Regions from separate parts of the Homo sapiens genome. Here all the other regions are linked to region 1. Evidence: promoter capture Hi-C in human tissues and cell types (Jung and others, 2019). All regions are on one chromosome and are shown on one strand. The core of a region is centred on a gene start or on the middle of the fragment in contact, and the rest is flanking DNA. Distances in the headings are between cores, read along the strand shown. Region 1 holds the start of SEH1L (SEH1 like nucleoporin). Region 2 overlaps LDLRAD4 (low density lipoprotein receptor class A domain containing 4). Region 3 overlaps SPIRE1 (spire type actin nucleation factor 1). Region 4 overlaps LDLRAD4 (low density lipoprotein receptor class A domain containing 4).

Region 1 (3,724 bases), core at 772-3,271:
AACTCTCAAGACAAGACATGGAGAAAGCTTAAATGCATATTACTATAAGGAAAGAAGCCAATCTGAAAAGGCTAGCCACTCCAAGATTCCCATTATATGCCATTCTGGAAAAGTCAAAACCATGCAGTCAGTGGAAAGATCAGCGGTTGCCAGGTGTTGTCGGAAGAAAGGGATGAACAGGAGCACTAAGGATTTTCAGGGCAGTCAAACTATTCCGCGTGATACTATAATGGTGGATCCATGTCATTATATATTTGCCAAAACCCACAGAATAAAACACCAAGAGTGAACCCTAATGCAAACTCTGAATTTTGGGTGATAATGATGTGTCAATGTAGGTTCACTGATCATAACAAAGGTACCACTTTGGTATGGGATGTTGACAGTGGAGGATGCTGTGCATGTGTGACAGTAGGGGTACATACGGGAACTCTATTTTCTGCTCAATTTTGCTGTGAACCTGAAAGTGTTCTAAAAACTAAAGTCTATTTTAAAAAATCCACTGTTTCACCTAATTCAACACTTCACTCCCACTCTGATAATCTCTGGCAACCAATGATCTGTTTACTGTCTGTATTTAAATTTAATTAAAACAATTTTTAAACTGTTTTGATATTTTTATAATAATCAATATATTTTGATTGGACTTTTATAGTGAGCACTTTCTTTGGAAATGAGTGTCTTTGACCTTCAAAAAAGTTATAGTTGTTATCAGTTATCATAAGAGGTGGGGCCCACCTCTTAAAGTAGCAATAAAATCTTATTTATGGTTGAAAAAGGTCAGGTCATTGCGCCACTTCTCTTTGCAGGTTTCTGTGCAATCCATCAGGGGACAGCTGGGACTAATCATTTAAAAAACTTTCCAGCCTGCTAATTTTACCATACCTCACATTTTTGTCATTCCTGGCCAAAATCCAAAGGGCAAGTCCCTTCTGCAGCCTCATTTTTTTTTTTTCTGTACTTTCGCTCCCCTGACGCAAGCTTCCACTGTCTCCCATCCTAACTTTACCACTACGCCCTCTAGAATGCCTTTTCCTGATAAGCAAAACCCCCCGAGTCGTTGGCTCCTCCACTTTCCGGTTTTGGCAGAATCCTTGATCTGAGCCAGGCCTCTTCCCAGGGGCTCTGGCCCTCTTCACTTCCTTTTCCCCGGAGGACTCTGGCTCCCGGGTAGCAAGCAGCCCACTTCCCCGGCCGCTTCCTTCCCCCGGGATGACACGTTTCTACAGGCGGACTCTTCTAATTCATACTATTTCCCTACCCCCGTGGTGGCTCCTAGCACCCCCAGGCCTGTTCTACCTGTAAAATCTTGACACATTTAAACTACTACTTCTGATCCTTTCCTCCCCGTCCAGCCTTCGCTCTTAGGCTGCCGAGCCTGGACTGCTTGTCATCCCCTCAGGCGTCTCCCCGGCCCTCCCTGCTCTTCAGCCGTCCCGACGGAGCGCGGCTCCTGACCAAACCCACGGTTCGTCTTCTCCACCTGCTCCGCGCGCCTCGCATGTGTCTGGGGGGAAACACATCCAAACGTCGACTTAAATGATTCAGGGCCGAGGACCGTGAGAGGCAGTCTTCACTTTTTCATCTTTCTTCATTTGCACAGTATACCAATAAGCTCTTACTACTTCTCAGCACAGGTAACTCGCCTTTTGCAGAGCACCCTCCGCCGCCGAACGGTCAGAGCCTGGAGGAACCCGCACCAGGATCGTAGGGCATGACGGGCCGGGGGCGGGACGAGGATTGACGAGCCGGGAACAGGGCGGGGCTTGAGGGGGCGGGAGGGTGGGGCGAGGCATGACGGCTCTGGTGGGAGGGTAGGCGGGGCTTGACGGGCCTGGGGGCGGGGCGGGGCTTGAGGGACCGGAAGGTGGGGCGAGTCATGACGGGCCGGGGCGTGGGCAGGGCTTGAGGGGCCAGGGGACTGTGTGGGGCCTGACGGGCCGGTGGGTGGGGCGGGGCTTGAAGGACCGGAGGGTGTGTGGGCGGGGCTTGATAGGCAGGGGCGGTGCGGGGGCGTGGGCAGCACAAGCCGTGCGCTCCCGGGCTGCGAGGTCTGGCTAGGCTACGGGCCACGCGCCGCCGCCGCTGCCGCCGCCACTGTCCTCTTCGGAGGCGCGGGCCCGACGGAAACCATGTTTGTGGCTCGCAGCATCGCGGCGGACCACAAGGATCTCATCCACGATGTCTCTTTCGACTTCCACGGGCGGCGGATGGCAACCTGCTCCAGCGATCAGAGCGTTAAGGTGCGCGCGGCGCTTGCGGGCGGGGCCGACCCCGGAAGGAAGGAAGGGGAGTGGGTGGGCGGCGCGGGGAACGGGGCTGTGTCTTGGTTCAGTGACGCCGCTGGAAGCTGTGGGGTGGCGGGCGAGCCCTGGCTGGACTGAGCGGAAGCCCTCCCCGCCCGCGTATTGTGGGGTCACGGCGGCCTCGCGGGCCGCCCTCCCGTGCGCCTGCGCAGCTGGTGCCACGTGCGCGCTCCCGCCCGCAGGGTACGCCGGGCCCTCTCCCAGGCCGCGCTGCCGGGGCTGCGGGCGGGAACCCAGGGGCATCCCACCGTCAGCCTCGGCGTCGTGGGTCTTGCCCGCGCTGTTCACCCGACGACCTGCAGTGGGACCTGGTGGGAGACTTTGCCTGGCTGGCGCTGCGTCGAGTTCTGTGCCCCGCCGGTGTTCTCTCACCAGGGCACATGGTTTTCTCCGTGGGTTCAGAGCAGAAGCTCACTTTGTTACGCCGAGGAAGAAAAATACAAACCATTTACATCCAATGATTTCCCTGCTTGCTGCCCAGGAATCGGAGGGTTTGTTTCTTGAAGTTCCCGTAAACGTCTGTAGACACTTCCGACAAGCAGAATTTCTTTTCTTTTTTTTTTTTTTTTTTTGAGACCGAGTCTCACTCTGTCACCCAGGCTGGAGTGCAATGGCACGATCTCGGCTCACTGCAACGTCCGCCTCCCGCTTTCAGGCGATTATCCTGCCCCAGCCTCCCAAGTAGCAGGGATTACAGGTGCACGCCACCACCCCCGGCTAATCTTTTTTTTTTTTTGTATTTTTTAGTAGAGACAGAGTTTCACCATGTGGGCCAGGCTGGTCTCGAACTCCTGACCTCGTGATCCACCCGCCTCGGCGCCTCGGCCTCCCAAAGTGCTGGGATTACAGGCGTGAGCCACCGCGCCCGGCCTACAAGCAGAATTTCTAATGTGGGGATGCTACATGAGATTTAGGAACCTCCCAGATGTGTTGCAGGATGAATGAAAGCTGGAGTGCGGATTATTTGGTTCTCGACAACTCCAGAGTAACTGGAAATCTGAAGGATAGTTTATCCTTTTTCACATTCGAGTTTGATACCAGTGATCTCTCAAAGATAAACTTTTTATAAATAGTGTTGCAATTTTTAAAAGATGTAGTTTCTTTTTTAAAACAAGTTTATTTTTGTTGTAATAAACTACGTTAACCGTTTTTTTTTTTTTTTTTTTTTTTTTTTTGAGACGGAGTCTTGCTCTGTCACCCAGGCTGGAGTGGGGTGGCGCAATCTTGGCTCACTGCAAGCTCCGCCTCCCGGGTTCACGCCATTCTCCTGCCTCAGCCTCCCAAGTAGCTGGGACTACAGGCGCCCGCCACCACGCCCGGCTAATTTTTTGTATTTTTTAGTAGAGACAGGGTTTCACCATGTTAGCCAGGATGGTCTCTATCTCCTGACCTCGTGATCCGCCCACCTCGGCCTCCCA
Region 2 (3,724 bases), core at 388-2,887, 450 kb after region 1:
AAGGTTACTTGAGTGTGTACAACATAAAGATAGTTATAAATATCTTTTTATAGCTGTTAAATAGCTAAAATATCCAAAGCAATTAAATATAAAAATTATAAAGTCAGAAACATTCCAATTAATATTTAATGTGACAGATGAGTTTGTTTGCTGAAAGCTTTCATTTTCCAGCTCTTTTTATTTATGCTCAGAGCATCCTGCAGGGAGACTTCGTGATGGTGACTGCTCATTGCTGGGTGTTAGGGCTGATAGCACAGCCAAGACCAGTTTGAATGCTGGCTCTACTGTCAGTAAGTATGAGCATTGTTTGAGATGAATCCTCTGCCACTGAGTATCCAGGATCAAAGCAACTTGCATGTCTCATTAGGTTCTTTGGAAAATGGGGGCTTTTGTTCATTGTACATCTGAAACTTGGATGTTGTAGTTATCCCTGAAATGGAGCCACTTAGCTCTGGAGAAATCAAACATGTGCAGAAAGCAGGTGACTGCTTCCATACGTGGCCTCTTGTAGTTTCTTGGGTCCTAGCCTCTTCCTCTGTTAGTGTATGGATGTCTCTGGAGTCCTTAATACTGGATTCTCCTGTGCTCTCTGTTGGCAGATGAGCTCAGAGGCTGGGGAAGGCATTGCTTCCAGGAGGAGCAGCCTGCCCCGGTCACGCCCCAGTTCCTGCTCTGTGACACTGATAGATCAGCTGACCTCTCTGAAGTGCACTCTTTACCACACTGAGGTAGAGATAATGGCCAGTGAGTAGGTTCTGTATAAAGATTAAGTGAAATAACATTTGTAAAGTACCAAAACACAGTCTGGCTTATAGTGGTGCTCGATAAATGTTCTTCCCCGTCTTCTTTCATAGTCTTCTTGAAGTTGACTATACAGAAAGGCCTCATAAAAATCAGGGGTTCATTTAATAAATATTTAATAGTTGTCATGCCATACTTCTGTCCCAGGAGTGTACAGTCTGAGTGTCATCACGATCTGCACAGTTAGCTGCCATAGCTCTGATGACATCACATGCAGGTGTGGAGGTGGGGGCTGGCGTGGGGGTGGGGGCTGGCAGGGTGGGAGCTGTTGTGGGGGTGGGAGCTGTTGGGGTTGGAGCTGTTGGGGGGCGGGAGTTGTTGTGGGGGCAGGAGCTGGCGTGGGAGCGGGAGCTGGCGTGGGGGCGGGAGTTGGCGTGGGGGCGGGAGTTGGCGTGGGGGCGGGAGTTGGCGTTGGGTGGGGAGCTGGCGTGGGGGCAGGAGCTGGCGTGGGGGCGGGAGTTGGCGTTGGGTGGGGAGCTGGCGTGGGGGCGGGAGCTGGCGTGGGGGCGGAAGTTGGCGTGGGGTGGGGAGCTGGCGTGGGGGTGGGGGCATGGGCTGCAGAGGTTGAGGATTTTAGCTTAGCTCCCGGGGCCCTCTGCTCGTGGGAATCAATCTCCAGCACAAGACATCCCCTCTGGTTCCTTATATCCGGTTTGATAGGGCTTTTAGCTGAACTTCAGCCCTGCCACCTGCCTGTGCTGGGCTGATAATCGCCTCTCTTCCAGAGTCTCATGGAGTCGTCACAGGCCAAGGGTCTTCAAACTTGGCTAGAAGTCAAGTCCCGGGTCTCTGTGTTTTTTCAGGATACTATGTTTAAATGGGGGAACCCAGAAATGGGATGCAAAAATAAACAAGTGTAACGTCTGGGTAGTGGTTTATGGTTCCGTTAAAATTTTTTAACCAATAATAGTCCGTATGGGAGTATGGACTCTTTTTCCTCTCAATTTATGTTGGCATTTGTAGAATACTCCAGGGTGGTGTGAGAAAGACATCTCCTGGTTCAAGATTTCCTAGGGGCAAAAAAAGAATACAAAATAATAACGTGGTGCCCTAGCTGGGCGTGTAATTCTGTGCTCTGTTAGCACAATCAGCCTTGCTGTCCTTTGTGGATGCTCAAGTCCCTGATATAAAATGATGGTGCATATACTTAGAACACACAGACATCCACTCATAGACTTTACATCATCTCTAGATTACTTATGATACCACATACAATATAAATGTTGTGTAAATAGTTGTTATACTATATTTTAAAAATTTGTATTGTTTTTTATTTTTTAGACAGGGTCTTGCTGTGTCACCCAGGCTGGAATGCAGTGGCGCCATCGTAGCTCACTGCAGTCTCAACCTCCTGGGCTCAAGTGATCCTCCCGTCTTGGCCTCTTGAGTAGCTTGGACTACAGGCACATGCCACCACATCTGGCTAATTGTTTATTTTTTGTAGAGACGGAGTTTTGCCATGTTGCCTAGGTTGGTCTCAAACTCCTGGGCTCAAGCGATCCTCCTGCCTTGGCCTCCCAAAGTGCTAGGATTACAGGTGTGAGCCACTGCGCCTGGCCTATTTTTTATTGTTTTATTGTTATTTGTATTTTTGCCTCAATATTTTCAGTCTGCAGTTAGTTGAATCTGCAAATGTAGAAACTGTGGATACAGAGGGCTGACGGTACAGCTGTAGAGATTGTACAGAAGAAAATACATTAATAAATGTTTCTAGATGCCATATTGTATTTTAAAGAATTCCTTTAAAGAAGCTATATTCCAGTTGCCAAGTAGACAACAGGCCTCCAGACTCCCTAAGGAGATGGGGGTGTGCCCATTTCACACGAGGGTTCTGTCCTAGGCTTGCTGGGTCCGCCAACCCTGAGGGAGAGACCAGCCACAGCTGCTGTTGGGTTTGCCTGACTTTTATTTTTTTGTTTTTGTTTTTTTTTAGACGGAGTCTCTCTCTGTCGCTCTGTCGCCCAGGCTGGAGAGCAGTGGTGAGATCTCAGCTCACTGCAAGCTCCGCCTGCCTGGTTCATGCCATTCTCTTGCCTCAGCCTCCCAAGTAGCTGGGACTACAGGCACCCGCCACCACACCTGCCTAATTTTTTGTATTTTTAGTAGAGACAGAGTTTCACCCTGTTAGCCAGGATGGTCTCTATCTCCTGACCTCGTGATCCACCCACCTCGGCCTCCCAAACTGACTTTTGTTTTTAATTTTTAAAAACTTTAATGCCCTTTTGCAGCAATAGGGTCTTACTATGTTTTCCAGGCTGATCTTGTATTCCTGACCTCAAGTTATCCTCCTGCTGTGGCCTCCCAAAGCACTGGGATTGCAGGCATGAGCCACTGTTCCCTGCTGGGTTTGTCTGACTTCTTAGGAAAATCATCCTGAGATCAGTGTTTCTGAATCCTACCACCTGTCTCTTGTTATCTTGTCTGTAGAGCCCTAGAGCAGCAGGACCCATGTCCTTGGCACTCACTGAAAAAGCCATGGGACCCAGCAGGCCCTGCCCCAGGACGACAAAGCACGGTGCTACCACGGCGCAGCACTCCTCGTACTGGGAGTTGGGGAGAAAACCAGGCTGGTCTATCATCTACACTCATTTTTTTCTTTTGTGATAAAATTGCAGAAAATTCAGGGTGTTTTCCCTGCCCTTTTGGAGGGATGCTATCTTGATCTCAGCGCACGCTGTTTCACAGAGCTGACATAAGGAGTGAAGATTAATTGTCTGCCACGGCAGGTGCTTTCGCATATGTGGCCGTGTGTGCTCCCTGAGACAGCCCCAGGAGGTGTGGGCGTGATCCGAGTTTGTGGCTCAGGATCTGCACAGGCCCGAGAGACCCTCCTTGAGGACGCAGTGGCCAGTGGGGGCCACCATGTCAGGGTTGAAAGTGGGGCTGTCTCAGATCCTCCCACTGTGGCGTTTCCTTCAGAACC
Region 3 (3,724 bases), core at 423-2,922, 420 kb before region 1:
CTCAAAAGATCTTCCTGTCTCCGCCTCCCAAGCAGCTAGGATTCCAGGATTCTATGATCTTGCTATGCTTCTCAGGCTGGTCTCAAAACACCTGGTCTCGGCCTCTCAAAGTGCTGGGATTACAGAAGTGAGCCACTGAGCGCCAGGCCTTCCTCCCCATTTTTAAAGATGAGTAAACAGAAGTCTTGCAAATGCTATTTGATTTTAAGAAGTTACATGAATAATGAATGGTATGATTCACCAATAAAGGGGCTTTTACAAAGGTCAGTGGTAATATAAATATTTCAAATTATGAAATAAATAAAAAATGAGTTATTTGCTTTAAAGAAAGCTTTCAAAAAATTCTTTTAAAACAGTGTACTCTTATGATACATCAAGTTTCTACTATAATATCATTATACCCCTACTATGAAACAGTGTATTACTGGAGAATTTGGTGAGCATACTGCACACTCTCAACGTGGAGGCAATGATGGCTAGAGCATGCTAGGAACGTATCAGAAAAAAATCAACTGACTTTCTAGTCTTAAAATTATTTTATCTCAGTCTTTGACACTTCTATGATACTCTATCTTTTCTCATTTCACATCTCCCTCTTTATTTATTTGTTTATTTTATAGATAGGGTCTTGCCTTGTTGGCCAGGCTGGTCTTGAACTCCTGGCTTCAAGTGATCCTCCTGCCTTGGGCTCCCAGAGTGCTGTGATTACAGGCATGAGCCACTGTGCCTGGCCTCCCTCTTATTTCATACCTCAACTTTACATGGTACCCCCCCATCCCATTTATGTGCATATGCAGGACCATCATCCCCTAACACCAGCATGTGCATGCCCACACATTCTCTCATAAACTCTCTTCTCTCCAAAGCCAAATCTTAGTCTTTCTGACTCACATATTCTCTCTCCAGAACTGCTCAGAAACCTACATCAAAGTATCTACCTCCATTTTCTTCAGAACTCTCTCTTTAGTTTCATCTAATAATGCATTTTATGTGACACTCTTAGAGGAAAATAGCAATAACTTCTATGTAGTGGAACACCTTTGCCGGACTGAAGGGTATGATGAGGATGAAAATGCTGTTATCAGCAGCACTGAGAACTTACTTCTATGTGAATCTCTAATCTCTCTAAGCCTCAGTTTACTAATTTGCAAAGAGTCACAGGATTGTTACAAGGATCAAATGGAGTAAGGAAGAGAAGGCATTTTATAAAGGAGCTGTATGAATATGACAGTAAAGTAGCAGGGGTTAAAGTTTTAGGTAATGATAAATAATTTTATTTAACAATAACAAAACTGGGGACTGATGATCAAAAAATTACCTGGACCACAATAGATTAAAGGATACTACCATTAATATAATTTCATTTTCTCCAATAAAAAATTTTACAATTGAAACTGCCCCCTCTGCACAGCACAGGCTCACCAGCTACCCCTGCAGTATGGCTCTGGAATATGGTGGTGTCACTGGCAGCAGGGCAGGGTGGCTCTTCTTTCATACAACCTGATGCACTCGATGGATTGCTTAGACAGTGCCTCCAGCTATACTTAACTTACAAGGATATCAAATTTCTTAGGAGACACAGTAATGTGTACTTATTTTCAAGGATATCACATTGCTTAAGAGACAAAGTAACAGCAGGCCTACCCAAATCTTTATCATTAAAAGAATGACCTTAAAGGAGTTCATTGGTTGTTTAAGAAGAAAATCATCACATCATGAAAGGGATTAGAATATAAACAAATTTGCTTTCTAAATAAATAGATGATGAACCAGATACTGTGCTTTATAAAGTAGCCAGGTTCAGTAAATGCACTTAACACTTTACAGAACAAGTATAACATTGGAAAACAGATGGTAGATTTTATATTTTAATAAATTGCCAATTTGCCATATAAGAAATTTAGTATAATTAAAGTACTTTTGGACTATCAAATCAGACACATTATCAGTAACTGAGCTCAAGTGTTCTGACACTATGCTTCCACCCCAATTTATATGCATTCATGCACACACATATACACAGATATAAGGTAGTTTGAAAAATTGTTGATACTCAATTTTTAATTTCGTTGAATCAGTCTATTGTTTCAAAAATTCCACTTGGTACACACTAACTCATAGGTATAAAGAATGATTCTTAAAATATATTAAGTATTTTGGGATCTTCCGAAAAAAGTCAAATTAACAAATAGTATTTATTAGTGTGAAAACAGTATTTTTGAGAAAAGGCTGAAACCATTTACATACATAAACTAACATGTATAAAAATGTTCTATCATTTCAAGAAAACCTTATACATTGCAGAGGTGAAAGAAACTTACATTCCTGAAACCTGAGTGTTGATAGGCAATTTATGTGCTTTCTTTGTCTAGGAAGTCACTCAAGATGAGAGAAGTGATGACAGGAGCTTCAAAGGAAGAAGGGTGTTTCAACAAGGATGAAGGCTGATTACTGGCAGGCAGCAGAGGAGAGACAGAATATTAGCAAACCCACCTCAATCGAAACAGGGAGATGTAGAGGAGAGATCGGCTTCCCGCAGGAGGAAAGCAAGAGAAAGCACTACCCTTAGGGGAACAAGTGTTGTCAGAAGAGCCTGAGGGGACTCTTTTCAAAATGGAGTGCAGTTTCCAGAGAAGACTGGGAAAGGGTGAGATGGAGATCAACGGAGTAGAAACAGAGGAGAAGGAGATATGAAAACAGGATGGAACTAATGCCTATAAAGTCCTAGTCTTGGGGTGGTGACAGAGTGAGAGATGTGGCTGGAGCTTCAACCAGTTGTGAGGGCCCAACCTCGGTCAGCCTGGCCAGTTTCTGCAGGCACTGCCACACAGCAGTTTTACTCCACCTGTCAGCTTTTTCTTTAAATAAACTTTAATAATGTTTGAGCCTCTTTTTGAAAGTGTGTTTGCATATCTTGCAAAGCAAAATTTTAATCAAGAGCAAAAAATTTTTTTTTACATCAGATGAGTAATGTGCTGACATAACAAGGTTTAGAAAAAGGAACATCTCGCACACAAGTGTGAATATCCAATCATCACGCTTAGGAACTGCAAAAGGATCAAGAGCAAACATTTTTTAAATGCTCACTGCAGTAGAGTAGTAAAAATACTAATATTGTTCTATTTAAGCTCAGAAATAGTTTCTAAGAATGCCAGTGTTGGAAGGACTTTAAGAGCTCATTTAATTTCCTCTATTAACAAATTTGCTTTCTAAATAAATAGATGATGAACCAGGCACTGTGCTTTATAAAGTAGCCAGGTTCATACATGTACACCCTAAAAATAATGCTCTGGGGAAGGCAATCTCAGTTTTAACAAGCTGGGAAAGGTAACGACAGCCTTAAAAAGTAATCTTTTCTACTATTCGAGAAAACCTAGTTGAGGATGTGCCTTTGGATGTTCACTTTGAAGCTTTTAATCAGATCCCACTTCCTCTGGTTCTGCTCAATGAGAACAGCTAATCCATTACACACACACACACACACACACACACACACACACACAACTTATTTATTCTTCACAGAGGGTTCACCTTTTTTCCACTCTGTTGACAACTTTCCTCCTTGATCCAATTTTATAAAATTAAAAAAAGAAAAAGGCAAAGCTTTTCATTGCCCTATCATAAAAAGACAGACTATAAGCAGTACCCTAGCTAGAGCAGAGGAAGGATGCTTAGAGCTCTTATTCATATATACACAATGGATCTATTTAAGGGTGATTTATTA
Region 4 (3,724 bases), core at 562-3,061, 280 kb after region 1:
GTGCTCAGTAAAAGGCAGCTCGTGAGCCAAGTGTGTACTCGTGAGACATCTGCCCTGCACTGGCACAGTCAGAGACCCAGTTCCCGCCTTTTGGAGACATAGAGACCAAGGAGAAGATAGAATATGTGTGGTGGAAGCAATTAGCAAGTGAGAGTGGTTTTACAATCACGTCTTGAACTAAGCAGTTTTTCAAGAAAGGCTTTAGATGTGGAGGAGAGTGAGGCCCCCAGGCCCAGAGGTGGTGGCTCTGACGCTTCCTTCGCTCCCTCCCTTCCCTCTCCTTCTACTCTTTCCTCCTGTGTGCATTTTTATGGAGCACTCAGGACGTCCACGCACTAGGCATAGATAAAGACATGGCTTTGTCGCCAAACTGGTGGAAGACAGGTGTGCCCACGGTTGCCACACAGGGCTAACAACCATACCAGGGAGACAGAGGAAGATGTGAGTAGACCTGCTGTCTCCTGGCTTCCTGAGGGCTCAATGTACTTTGGTCAATCAAGGGAGACTTCATGGAGGAGGCCAAATGCTGTTGTGTGAATGTTTGTGTGTCCCAGAAACTCCTCAATTGAAACATAACTCCACTGTGATAGTATTGATAGTATTGAGCGATGGGGCTTCTAGGAGGGGATTAGGTCACGAGGCTTCTCCCTCATGTGTGGGATTAGTGCCTTTATAACAGAGGCCGGAGGAGCTTGTTCACCCCTTCCACCACTCGAGGACTCACAGAAGGTGCCATCTATGAAGAATGGGCCCTCACCACACACCAGATCTGCCGGCACCTTGATCTTGGACGTCCCATCCACCAGAACTAGGAGCAACACATTTTTGCTGTTTCTAAATGACCCCATTGAAGGTATTTCGTTACAGCAGCACGGCTGGACTGAGACATAGACCTCGGGCTGAGACTTAGCAAAAGAACAGATTTTTTTTTAAGGTGAACAAACAGGGAAAGAGTAATCTAGTGGGTTGCAGCGAGAAAATATTAGAACGCATATACTTATTTTTACTCCATTTTTCAAACTTTGTATATTATGTGTACAATGTACTATTACCATAGTATATGTATATAATTTATAATTTATAAATAAATATACATGACCTGTGTGCTTAGACATTTTTGCTTGTAGGAGTATATGCTTCAGAAAATTGGGGGCCCACAGGCGGGCAGTGGGAACATATGTTAAGACAGGGGGAGGGCAGGGCGGGCCATGCATGGCTGCAGGTGGGGGAAGAGGTGGGAGGGTGTCTGCGAGTGTCATGGGTAGATGCTACTGCTTACAGTGCCTGAAATTTCAAACTCAAACTCTAAATTACTTTTGTAGCTTTCAGTTGTTGTGAACTCAAAATCCACAGACCATATCTTGCTCCTTTGCCGCCCTGACTCTCCTAGGCTCCTCTTTCTGGTCCATGCTATCTGAACCCTCCAGGGCGAATCCTGACACAGGTCGGGGAGGGATTGAATACACCAGTTTGGTGATCAGAAATGTTGATAGGACTGCTTTATTTGTGTGGAGAAATCTTCCTTAGGAGGGTGAGATTATTTATTCATGCTCGGCGCAGGGGGACCCTTTTAGGGCCCACATGCATTTATAAGAATGGAGACTTGTAATCTGGTGAAGCTCATTCCTGATGTCCAGGGTGCTGCGGGGCTGCAGGGATGAGTGAAGGTTCTTTCCCTGCCTGCATGGAATGCGCGCCACGGGCAGCATCGTCTTCGAGTTCAGAGGCGTATAGATGTCTATGGGTGAGGCAAAAGGCAGGTGGTATGGGAGGAAGCGGGAGGGAGAAGGGCAAGAGGGGTCTGGACCGGTTTTGCTTGAGAAGAAATGGCAGTGGACACATGGCTCGTGTGAAAGGTGGGTGCACGCAGACAGGCCAGAGGCTTTTGGGAGCGGGAGTGAACCTGGGCACGGGGCGCTGCTCTTGGTGAGCATGTCGGGTGGCCCTTGCCCTTTGGGTCACCATTCCTCCTGATTGCGGCCTGCCCGAGATCGCGTGAGTCTGGTTCTGGTGTGGAGCGTTTCCTCCCATCTTTGTCGAAAACCAAATCAACCAGCCACGAATGGTAAAGAAAAACAAGCCCATTAGAACACCTACCTTGATTTCATATCGAATTGTTTGCAGTGGGGAGCTCTGTCTCGACCACAGTGCTTTAATAGTTGATATTTGTTTACATTTCACAAAACGCTTACATTTCATACTGCATTCAGTTCACGACAGGAAGCCAGGTTTATCACTTTCGCATGGGAATAATAATGCCTTCTATTTGCAAAACGTGTAACTATTTAAAGCTTTTCACAGACAACATCTAATTTCATGTTCCTTGGCTTTAAGGAACAAATAATCAATGAAATGTACATAGAAGTATAATTAATGGATTTGTTTCTTCTTCTCTAATGTGGCTATTAGCTGAATGAGGAATTCAGGCCAGAGTTTATGTTATTTTAATGTGTGAAACCTAATTGGAATGTGATGCCCAATGGTTGTCCAAACCACATGGCAGGCTGTTTTCTGAAGGTCATTGGTCCCAGGGATGGCAGCTTGGTGGCTGGGCAGGCACCCACCTAGTCGATGTCATTTTGGGAGGTCAAGGGTATAGCACTAAAAACTGAATTCGAAGATACACATAGTTACATCAAGGGGACTGAGGGGGCACCCCGTGAAGCTCTCTCCTGGTGGGCCATGCAGGATGGAGTGTGGCGCGAGTACGGTGCAGGCTGGGGCCACCGCAGGGGCCTGCTCTCATCTCCTCCCTGTTAGAGGAGCGTCTTCTGGGCGCTCTTGTGGGACTTAGGAGTATGTCCCAGGTCCTGAGCAGTGCAGAGACTTGGCCTGGTGCCAGCAGTGAGGTGGATCTGCCAGTGTGGCCCCTCTCCTGTCCCACTCGCCTCCCGCCTCTGTCTGTGGCCTGTGCCCCTTTTTGCCTGGCATGGTTTGAGCTTCTGTCCTGGTACAGTTTGTTCGGCTGTGGATGCAAGTTGACTTCAGTTCTGTTTCTCCCCTTTCAACAAAATCACCTTCCTTCCCCGCGTGGCCTTGTCCGGGGGCTGCTGCTGCCCCGTGCTGTGCTCCACAAGCCTCCGTGTAAATCGCCTTCCTTCCCTGCGTGGCCTTGTCCGGGGGCTGCTGCTGCCCCGTGCTGTGCTCCACAAGCCTCTATGTCACCTCGTGCTGCCGCATCCCTTCCCCAGCTCAGCTATTCACTGTTGTCTGCAGCTCTGACTCTTCCGCTGTGGCTGCCAAGTCCCCTGATCCCCTGCTTGCGTTCCAAGTGGAAGCCGTGTGCGCCGTTCACACTGGCTTCGCAGCTTCCTGCTCTCTCCTCCGCAGCCCAGGAAGCGCCACCTCCAGCCATGCTCCCTGGAAGCTGCGTGTGGGAGAGGCGCGTGCCAGCTGTGATGCTCGTCCGAACTCAGCTCCGGACCCGAAGCTGGCAGCAGGGAGAGAAGGCTGCCACGTCTGCTGGCTCTCCCTGGTGTGGTCCTCCTGGTTCCCTGAAGGGAACAGGAGCCAGCGTCCTCATGACCAAGGCTTCAGCTCATTGTTAAAATGATTAGGTGGCAGGTGAGGCGCTTTCTGATCTCCCCTGGTCATGAGTTGTGTGATCAATGAGGACTCTAGACGATGGCAGAGGATCTGCTTGTCGCCACACACAGTGCGTTAGGGATGGAGCTTGCCACCAGTGGCGCCACCTCTTTGCAGGCGCCTGTCCTGAAGGACGTGA

Evidence for each region. Contacts are between HindIII fragments. The study calls those that stand out against the background at their distance.
Region 2: a contact is called between a fragment that was not itself captured here and the fragment with the promoter of SEH1L in region 1, in 1 of the 25 tissues and cell types used here (spleen).
Region 3: a contact is called between a fragment that was not itself captured here and the fragment with the promoter of SEH1L in region 1, in 2 of the 25 tissues and cell types used here (dorsolateral prefrontal cortex and hippocampus).
Region 4: a fragment that was not itself captured here is called in contact with the fragment with the promoter of SEH1L in region 1 in 2 of the 25 tissues and cell types used here (aorta and dorsolateral prefrontal cortex).

The regions. Positions count from the first base shown.
Region 1 is chr18:12,945,990-12,949,713 of GRCh38, forward strand. SEH1L (SEH1 like nucleoporin) reads left to right here and starts at 2,022. Exons shown (of 9, transcript NM_001013437.2): 1 at 2,022-2,243. The coding sequence starts at 2,133. RefSeq lists silencers at 1,720-2,169, 2,210-2,559, 2,570-2,669 and an enhancer at 2,601-3,202. The HindIII fragment of the contact is 16,054 bases long and covers 505-3,724 here.
Region 2 is chr18:13,394,423-13,398,146 of GRCh38, forward strand. The region is part of intron 3 of LDLRAD4 (low density lipoprotein receptor class A domain containing 4); the gene reads left to right. Among named protein-coding and RNA genes, the nearest start is that of LDLRAD4-AS1, 31 kb to the right of the region's middle. The HindIII fragment of the contact is 8,832 bases long and covers 1-3,724 here.
Region 3 is chr18:12,530,467-12,534,190 of GRCh38, forward strand. All of the region lies in intron 4 of SPIRE1 (spire type actin nucleation factor 1), which reads right to left. It overlaps LOC124904371 (small nucleolar RNA U13), which reads right to left and starts at 3,059; the gene lies at 2,958-3,059. The HindIII fragment of the contact is 3,667 bases long and covers 1-3,506 here.
Region 4 is chr18:13,229,440-13,233,163 of GRCh38, forward strand. All of the region lies in intron 1 of LDLRAD4 (low density lipoprotein receptor class A domain containing 4), which reads left to right. Among named protein-coding and RNA genes, the nearest start is that of C18orf15, 8.2 kb to the right of the region's middle. The HindIII fragment of the contact is 7,303 bases long and covers 1-3,724 here.